3 separate regions of the Homo sapiens genome follow, and all the other regions are linked to region 2. Evidence: promoter capture Hi-C in 16 types of primary human blood cells and fetal thymus (Javierre and others, 2016). All regions are on one chromosome and are shown on one strand. Each heading gives the region's core, a stretch centred on a gene start or on the middle of the fragment in contact. The rest is flanking DNA. Distances are from core to core; before and after follow the strand shown.

Region 1 (3,440 bases), core at 941-3,440, 1.3 Mb before region 2:
ATGGGGTTTCTTATTGTAATGGAAATGTTCTGAAATTAGATAGTAGTGACAGTTACACAAGTCTGTGAATATATCAACAACCACTGACTTGTACTCTTAGAAAGGGTGAATTTTATGGTATGTGAATTATAGCTCAGCTTAAAAAGGAGCTTTAGGATTGGTCAACTTTATATATAGTTTAAGTGGCGTGATTTTACATCTCATGATACATCCTTCTTTCTAATATATTGCCTTCATTGGCTCACATTACATTTATAAATTCCCTTCTTGTTGTTTTTCCCATTCCCTACATCACTTGGTACAGTGCTTTGCAAAATGTATAACTTTATAAATTATTTTGGGTGCTGAAATTTATGTATGAAATACTTTTTCATCCCCTTAAGCCCCTAATAAAAAAAAATTACCCAACCTTCACATTTTATTTCTCCCTACTAGAAAATAAATTCCCTAATGCTAAGATTCATGGTAGATTCATCTCCATACCCAACTCTACCTTATTTATTTATTTATTTATTATTTATTAATTTATTTGGCACAGAGTCTCGCTTTGTCACCCAGACTGGAGTGCAATGGCACAATCTTGGCTCACTGCAACCTCTGTCTCCTGGGTTCGAGCAATTCTCTTGCCTCAGCCTTCTGAGTAGCTGGAATTACAGGCGCACACCACCACACCTGGCTAATTTTCGTATTTTTAGTAGAGACGGGGTTTCACCACGTTGGCCAGGCTGATCTCGAACTCCTAACCTCAAGTGATCTGCCCCCCTCAGCCTCCCAAAGTGCTGGGATTATGGGCGCGAGCCAGCGTGCCCGGCCCCAACTCTCACTTCTATTTCTACCTTGTACCTAGCACAGTGCCTTGGATAAAGACACTTCTTACGATTCTTTTTCTTTTTCCCCTCTCCGATTTGAATGTAATCTCCTTGAAGATTAATACTGGATTGCATTCATCACCCACTTGTGTAGTCTTATTCTTTACATGTAAGTTCTTAATGAATGAATAAATTCTGTTATATCTGTTCTCCCACATGCCACCGCAAATTGTACTTTTTTATTTTATTTTATTTTATTTTTGAGATGGTTTCACTCTTGTTCCAACTCATGTTTCAAATGAATTTGTTCTAGTGTAACTCAGCATCTATCATTTTAGCTGTTAAGACTGTTACTCATTTATTTGTCTTAAATTGTGAATGCAAAGATAACATGAACTATTGTCCCAGGGGTCATTGCCTTTGTAAATTTGTTTGTAAAATTTCCAAATAAGAGCCCTTTCTAAGCAAGTGCCTGCCAAATATGGCTGGATGATGGTAAAATCCCAACTCTCCTTTCACCTATTTGGATTTTATATTCTTTCAGGAGGCAGCTTTCTTACCTTTGGAACAATTACTTATGTAAGAGGAAAAGTGGGTTTCCACAGAGAATGAAATAGGTACTAGCTAGTTCAGTAGTCCAGGAAGCTACCAAGATCAGTCTTCAAGAGGAAATATTGTAACCTGGCAACCAAACTCTGTCTCTGGTGTTTTCTGGAGGCATTTTTCTTAAGTTGGAATTGAGGCAGGTAGACTAGGGGAAATGTGAGTGAGTGGAGGCAGGGGCATGAAGCTTGCACCGTGGCTGTGAATTAATATAGCTTTTCTGTCCCTGGGTCTCTGGGTCTAGCACTTTTCAATTCGAAACATTACCAAATAAAACCAGTGCATCAATTTGTTAAAAAAAAAAAATTGACTGGCAGCTTTATAAGCCTATTTCTCGAATAATGCTTCCTGCTGATTATTTCTTTATATGTGTATTTAAAAAATTCAGCCAGGCACGGTGGCTCATGCCTGTAATCCCAGCACTTTGGGAGGCCAAGGCGGGTGGATCACCTGAGGTCAGGAGTTCGAGACCAACCTGACCAATACGGTGAAACCTCGTCTCTACTAAAAATACAAAAATTAGCCAGGTGTGGGGGCCTGCGCCTGTAGTCCCAGCTACATGGGAGGCTGAGACAGGAGAATCGCTTGAACCCGAGAGAGGAGAGGCAGAGGTTGCAGTGAGCCGAGTTTGCGCCACTGCACTCCAGCCTGGGTGACAGAGTGAGACTCTGTCTCAAAAAAATAAAAAAAATAAATAAATAAAAAGTCATTTTCCTCCCAAACAGACAAAGTCCCAAGAGTCATCAGAACAAAACTGCAATAGATTTCATTTTTTTTTTTTTTGAGACGGAGTCTTGCTCTGTCGCCCAGGCTGGAGTGCAGTGGCGCTATCTCGGCTCACTGCAACCTCCGCCTCCTGGATTCAAGTGATTATCTCGCCTCAGCCTCTCGAGTAGCTGGGATTGCAGGTGCCCACCGCCACATCCAGCTAATTTTTGTATTGCTGTAATTGTTGGCCAGTCTGGTCTCAAACTCCTGATCTCAGGTGATCCGCCCACCTCGGCCTCCCAAAGTGCTGGGATTACAGGCATGAGCCACCGTGCCCGGCAGGTTTCACTCATTTTTATCCCCCTTTCTACTTACCATTAAATTACTACAGAGGGATGTTTTGTACCTGCCCCAAAATAAATGCATGGTGTGCTACTGCCAAAAGAAAATATGACAGAATTTACAGTCATATTTGCCTCCTCTGCAACATTCAGACTTGATCCTTCTTTTACCCTACATTGTCTATCTGATTCCCTACTCTTTTAGTACTAGTTCTTTCTTAGGAGCTCAACAGTTCCTTTTGCAATTGGTTTTTGGTGCCTGTCCTACAAATTTCCAAGATGTGCTCAAATATGCCTAAACCCTAGGAGATGAAACAGTTTAAGCTTAGAGACCTCTCCACCTCTATTACTGACCTTTGAACACGTAACTGGTTTTATGTGGTGTTTTTGGTGTTTTACTCCAAAATGTCCATATGTCAATGCCCAGATGTTTTATACAACTGTGTATCATTACCTTCCTTTTGAGGGTGACGATATCAAAATAAAGACAGAAAAGTAATGATGCAAATGAATAGAATAAGAGGTGTTCTATGTGGGGGTCTCGTAGAAAACCAGAGACAACATTAGTGCATAGAGAGAAACTATAGCTTTGGAAAGGGATTAGGACCTCTAAAGTGTCTTTTCCTTACCGGTGAAGCACAAGCCTTCCCCCAGAAACCTGCACCACTCACACATAATGCTTCACAAACAAGTTTTGGCCTCGGTTTTTTCATACTTTTGGGGCTGGTATCCAGCTAGTGTATTTTCCCTCATGGAGCGGGAACAACAGAGATAAAGGTTTTGATAAATATAGAGGCCTCTTAGAAGTGTCAGGACTGAATCTAAAAGAGCTGAATCTAAAAGAAGAGGGAGGCTGGGTGCGGTGGCTCACGCCTATAATACCAGCACTTTGGGAGGCTGAGGCGGGTGGATCACTTGAGGTCAGGAGTGCAAGACCAGCCTGGCCATGATGGTGAGACCCCCGTCTCTAGTAAAAATT
Region 2 (3,114 bases), core at 493-2,992:
TACACATATATATATGTGTATATATATATATGTATATATATATGGAATACTACTCAGCCATAAAAAGGAATGAATTAATGGCTTTTGCAGCGACCTGGATGAGATTGGAGACTAATATTCTAAGTGAAGTAACTCAGGAATGGAAAACCAAACATTGTATGTTCTCACTCATAAGTGGGAGCTTAGCTATGATGGATACAAAGGCATATGAATGATACAATGAACTTTGGGGTCTTGGAGGAAAAGGGTGGGAAGGGCTTGAGAGATAAAAGACTACAAATAGGGTACAGTGTATACTGCTCGAGTGATGGATGCACCAAAATCTCTCAAATCACCACTAAAGAACTTACTCATCTAACCAAACAGCACCTGTTCCCCAATAACCTATGGAAATAAAAAAAAAATTATAAAAAAATCTGTATAGGCATGTTAAAAAAAGGAAGGACAGAAATACCATTCAACTCAGCAATCCCATTACTGGGTATATACCCAAAGGAACATAAATTATTGTTTTATTAAAGACACATGCACACATATGTTAACTCCAGCACTATTTACAATAACAAAGACATGGAATCAACCTAACTACCCATTAATGATAGAATGGATAAAGAAAATGTGGTACATATACACCATGGAATACTATGCAACCATAAAAAATAATGAGATCATGTCCTTTGCAGGGACATGGATGGAGCTGGAGCCTATTATCCTTAGCAAACTAACACAAGAACAGAAAACCAAATGCTGCATGTTCTCACTTATAAGTGGGAGCTAAATGATGAGAACACATGGACACATAGTGGGGAACAACACACACTGGAGCCTACTGCAGAGTGCATGGTGTGAGAAGGGAGAGGATCAGGAAAGACAACTAGTGGGTACTAGGCTTAATACCTGGGCGATGAAATAATCTTTACAACAAGCCCCCATGACAGAAGTTAACCTATGTAACAAACCTGCACATATATCCCTGAACTTAAAAGTTAAAAAAAAAAAAAGATTCTTGTATCCCATCTCGGATCTACAGAATCACAATCTCAAAAATGAGCCGTAAGAACCTGCATTTTAACAAGCTCTACAATTATTGTGGTACATACTGATGTTTGAAAAGTACTGCCCTAGACACTCTTACCTCAGGCCGTTATAGTGAGTCCATACACTTAAAAATAAGCGTCTTTCCAAGTACTTTAAAGATTCAAAATGATAGTGGATCTGAAATGCCGCCTGAGTCCCCATGACAACGTGTACACTGTGGGGCCCAACCAATAAAGATAAGAAAAGCTTTGGCGGTCAAGCATACTTGGGAAGCTGCAGTTTCTAGAACAGTCTAGTAGAGGACAGCCTCTTCAGCAGCCTGCTAGGCATTTTTTTACTTCTTCCTTCTGTTATGCAGACAAGCTAACTGAAGATGCGGTTACTGAGATATAATTTCTCTGCTAGGTCACAAAGTCTGAAAACATGGGCCTTACGTGTGTAACTGTGTATCATCACCTGCCACCCCCAGTTTTTCCTGGCTCTACTAATCACCCAAAGTTCTGAATGCAGAAGCCCCAGGGGCCCCCGGAAGATCCTTCAAGCTGGCATCCTTGGCCTCGCTGCGGGGGCTTAGCTACCTGTGGGAACCCACGTAGCAAGGGTGACTCAAAGGGTTAACAAGCAGTGGCGCCGCAGAGTGGCGGGGAGTGCAGCCAATAGGGTGTCTAGGCAGGCAGTACGTCTGGTGTGGGCGGGAGTGAGCCAAAGTGTGCTAAAGGAAACCAACAGCGGCCTAGGGGTGAAAGGACAGCCAGGGTTAGATGTTCTGAGGAGGCGGGAGCAACCGAGAGAGCACGTGAGCATCTGTCCTTTCTACCCGTTCCTCTTTATCTTTAGTGTTCAGTAGCAGCGGGGATAGCCCGGGGCCCGGTGTATGGCCACGGAGTTACAGTGTCCGGACTCCATGCCCTGTCACAACCAGCAAGTAAACTCTGCCTCAACCCCAAGTCCCGAGCAGCTGCGACCTGGCGATCTGATCCTGGACCACGCAGGGGGAAACAGAGCCTCCAGGGCCAAGGTGATTCTCCTCACGGGGTACGCCCATTCTAGCCTGCCGGCCGAGCTGGACTCTGGGGCCTGCGGCGGCTCCAGCCTCAACTCAGAGGGCAACAGTGGTAGTGGTGACAGTAGCAGCTATGACGCACCAGCTGGCAACTCCTTCCTAGAGGACTGCGAACTCTCCCGGCAGATCGGGGCGCAGCTTAAGCTGCTGCCTATGAATGATCAGATACGGGAGCTACAGACCATCATCCGTGACAAGTAAGCCAAGAGCGGAAGGGGAAAGGGAAGTGGAGGGTCTTGCAGGCTGTGGGCGGGGATTGGAAGTAAAAGGGCTAAGAGACAGTGTTCTTGGCCTTGGCAAACTTTGGAGATTGGGGTAAGACCTTTTATTTGGTGTGTGTGTGTGTGTGTGTGTGTGTGTGTGTGTGTGTGTGTCGTGTAACTCGAACGCCAACCTTCTCTTTCCAAGTTCCGGTGTCTAACATCACTTTGGGTGGGGAGGAAGACTTTAGGTAGCCTCTGGGCTCTTTGTCTCTCCCAGGAAAGACAACTCCTTGGCCATTCCAGGCAGGTAAACTCCCCTATACTATGTGGGCAGTGCTTGTCCACATGGTAAACCTATAACCCAGAAATGGTTACTATCCAAGGTTATGCACTACCACCAATCACCTCAGGTTCATAAATAGAAATAAAGCAATTTCAAGGAAATTCTATTCAGGCCCTGACCCTTTAGTATTTGCTACTGCAAACAAGGTCTTTTAGTCTTGGAGTTCAGGTTTACTTGATCACATGAAAGCTTATCGTCCAACTCTTATCATTTTTCACTGTAAACTCACAGAACATAGTTAATGGATCAAAGGGAGCCTAAAGGAGCCTTTGGCCCTTCCTAATCCCACAAACCAATGTAGCCAGAACTTCATGTTAAAATGTAATTTTGAAATTTCTAAACCTACGTTGTAAATGGGTTTTCTCCAGGGAAATATGTACCATGATGAACTACAGCTATTTTCTTTATTGGCAGCACTTTAAATGAGCAGCATATCAAAACACCCCTTTTTTAGTGGCAGGGGTTGG
Region 3 (3,340 bases), core at 489-2,988, 1.7 Mb before region 2:
TGTCGCCCAGGCGGGACTGCGGACTGCAGTGGCGCAATCTCGGCTCACTGCAAGCTCCGCTTCCCGGGTTCACGCCATTCTCCTGCCTCAGCCTCCCGAGTAGCTGGGACTACAGGCGCCCGCCACCGCGCCCGGCTAATTTTTTTTGTATTTTTAGTAGAGACGGGGTTTCACCTTGTTAGCCAGGATGGTCTCGATCTCCGACTTATTTTTAAAGTTCCCTAAATAAACCAACTTTTGAATAAAAATGGGCTTTTCATTTTAATAACACATACTCCTTGATGATAATGGTTTGATTCATTTCTCTTACAGAACTAATTTCTTCCTACTTCACACACATTAAATGCTTTGTTTATACTGATAATGTCGTGCTCATCCTAAATTAAAGTTTGACTATGTCTGTTTCCCCAGAGACACACCATCTGATTGGGATGCAGCCGTAGAGTAGCAGAAAGAGCAGTGAAGCTGGTATTAGAATGCCTGGATTACAGTGTTTGTTCTGTTACTTAGCAGCTGTGTGACTTTACTGTCTTAATGATATGGATTTTTGTGCTGCTGCCAAGTATGAAACAGTTTGGCACACTATTTAGATACGCAAAATATGTGATCCCCACAACATTTTAGTGAGTGTAAAGAAGATAGGATAGACCATTTAAAATGGAAAATTTTGAACAAAAGGTCACCATAGACTTGAATAAATTACTTAAACTTCTGAGACCCACTTTTGTCATGTAATAAAATAGATATAATGATACTTACCTCTCAGGATTAAGGGTTAACTGAAATATTGTATGTGAGGGTCTAGCTCAGTGTCTGGAAAATGGATGATGTTAATTAAGGTTTCCTTAGGTTGGAATGCTCCTTTCACCCCCTCCATCCGCCCCCTCCCCCAAAAAACACTCCAAAATTCAAACATGCATATTCTGATTCATCTTTTAAGGAAGAGCCCAAGAGGCACCATTCTACAAAATCTTTCCAAACAACTTCAGGCAGTACAGCCCTTTGGTTAAGAGTACTGGGCTTCTGGAATCAGAAGAGACCACCAAATTTAAAACCAGGTCTCCCATTTAGTAGCTCCCTGACACTGGACAAATTACTTATTTTCTCTGCACCTAGATTTCCCATCTGTAATATAAAATCATCATGATACATACCTCATAGGGTTGCAGAGGATTAAATGAGATATACATACAGAGCACTTAGCACAGTCCCTGAGTTAATAAGTCCTCCGTTAAGTATTACATAGGAGAAGTAGTAAAAAGTTTCCTCTTAAGTAAAATGCTAATAAAAGTGCTTACCCTGCCTCCCAAGATTGTGGCAAAGTTATGACGCAAGGCTTTTAAACTGTAATGCTGAACAAACGTAAGGGATTGGTATATACCTTGAGATATTTTGGACAAAGTTCTAACCTTACTTTTATACAATATGCTTTCTCTCACCCGCCTGCAGTTGGGTTAATAATGCCCAGCATTAATTAATAAGCAATAAAATCAGAAGATACCCCGAATACAAGTAGCTGACGCTCAGAGAGCAGTATTAAGGCGAGCACCCGCAGACCGGACCTGGATAACTCCTTGGAGTTCACCTCTAGCGGCCCCCTCCCCTTGGAGCTGCGCAAGCGTACACTGACTTTGCTCCTCTCTAGTGCCCCCGCCTCCAGCAGCCGCCCCCCCACCCCCCCGTCTGCCCAACACGCAGGCGCGTCTCCTCAAATCCTGTCCCTACACCCCTCCTCTTTCTCTTCATTTCGTTCCCCCTCCTCTTGCAGCACCTCGGCAGGTTCAAACTCTTCTCCGGGAGCGTGGCGGCGATCGCGAGGTCACGTGATGAGCATCCTGCTGCCCAACATGGCGGAGTTCGACACCATCTCGGAACTGGAGGAGGAGGAGGAAGAAGAAGCGGCAACGTCGTCGTCGTCGCCGTCGTCGTCGTCGTCGGTATCTGGGCCCGACGATGACGAGGAGGATGAGGAGGAAGAGGAGGAAGAGGAGGAGGAGGAAGAAGAGGAGGAGGAGGAAGAGGAGGAGGAAGCGCCGCCCCCGCCTCGGGTAGTGAGCGAGGAGCATCTGCGGAGATATGCTCCCGACCCTGTATTAGTGCGGGGTGCCGGCCACATCACTGTGTAAGCGAGAGGGGGTCTTGGGACTTGAAATGCCTGAGATTTGGCAACAGAGGAATGAGAAGTGATCGAGGGGCCTGTGGAGTGGGGGAGGGTTGACTGATTGACTGAGGCGTACACTTAGGAAAGGACACCTGGTCTAAATGGGGAAACCATGGGTGGATACGTGTGAAGGAAGTGAGGAGAATGTAAATATGATGCACCAATGCCAGGTAAAGAGTGAGTATAGGAGAGGGAAGTTAGGGGTTTGGGAGCCAGAGCGATTGGAGTAGGGGTGAGTCTCCTTTCTTGTATGTATGCTGGCAAGTGAACAGTCTCTAAACTGCAGGATGTACCAGAGGGTTTTTTGCTGACAAGATTGATACTTTGTGGGAAACAGCAATTGCTGTGACATGTGACAAGAACTAGGCTTGCATTCTTCAAAACAGAAACATGATATATTTTGTGAATAATAATAGAATGTTCATTCACCCACGTATTCATCCATCCATTCTTCCTATCGAATCCTTCCTTATATATCACTCGATTAGAGGTTCAGGATGAGAGGCAGCTATGGAAAGTAGAAAAAGAAATGGATTGAGTCAGGGCTCTTAGACGCTGGTCCCGGTTTTGCTTCTTACTGGCCCTGTGACCTTGGTCAGGTTGCTTTTTCTCATTTCTGCGCCTTGATTTCTTCATCTCTAAAATGAAGGGTTTGGAGTAGATGGTTTCTAAAGCTTTTCAGTTCTGAGATAATTTACCTCCAAGGGATTTTGTATGCCCAAGTATGAAATATACAGGCATTAAATATATATGGAAATTAATACTTTGGGAGCTGAGCATAATTTCTTTAAAATTTATCCAGGGTGGTTTTTTAAAAAATTGAAATCTTGAGGAAAAATTGAATATTTCAGAAAATAAAATGGGGAGGGACTTCATAACAGCTACAAGGCAAAAATGTTGATGATTCTCCGGGATTTAAAGAGTGCTTCCTCATTTTTATTTGCTTGGACCATAACTATTTGGAAGTTTGAGTACTGTGTCATGTTCATCCTCTGAACTATGCTATCTTTTACTGCATTTTCAAAATAGGTTGCCTTTTGTTGTTATGTCATGCTGCCTCTGGTTTTGATAATGGCTCACCTAGTCCCTTTGACTTTCAATTGAGTTCATGTTACATTAAATCATATATATGCTACCTCCCTTATATTAGCTTCAATTTTTAACATGTTGAGTTTTTTT

What was found. Contacts are between HindIII fragments. The CHiCAGO score rates a contact against its expected background, and 5 or more counts as called.
Region 1: a contact is called between a fragment that was not itself captured here and the fragment with the promoter of UPRT in region 2, in 1 of 17 cell types (total B cells). The highest score is 5.6, in total B cells.
Region 3: the fragment with the promoter of CHIC1 here is called in contact with the fragment with the promoter of UPRT in region 2 in 2 of 17 cell types (non-activated CD4 T cells and fetal thymus); the score reaches 11.9 in non-activated CD4 T cells.

The regions. Positions count from the first base shown.
Region 1 is chrX:73,939,782-73,943,221 of GRCh38, forward strand. No RefSeq gene overlaps it. Among named protein-coding and RNA genes, the nearest start is that of JPX, 2.8 kb to the right of the region's middle. The HindIII fragment of the contact is 1,186 bases long and covers 1,598-2,783 here.
Region 2 is chrX:75,272,343-75,275,456 of GRCh38, forward strand. UPRT (uracil phosphoribosyltransferase homolog) reads left to right here and starts at 1,743. Exons shown (of 7, transcript NM_145052.4): 1 at 1,743-2,298. The coding sequence starts at 1,913. It overlaps LOC124905200 (a long non-coding RNA gene), which reads right to left and starts at 1,694. Exons shown (of 4, transcript XR_007068269.1): 1 at 1,136-1,694. RefSeq lists enhancers at 1,634-1,683, 1,704-1,753, 1,914-2,123. The HindIII fragment of the contact is 1,552 bases long and covers 1,283-2,834 here.
Region 3 is chrX:73,561,459-73,564,798 of GRCh38, forward strand. CHIC1 (cysteine rich hydrophobic domain 1) reads left to right here and starts at 1,739. Exons shown (of 6, transcript NM_001039840.4): 1 at 1,739-2,122. The coding sequence starts at 1,827. It also overlaps the pseudogene MAP2K4P1. RefSeq lists a silencer at 1,659-1,718. The HindIII fragment of the contact is 6,151 bases long and covers 1-2,833 here.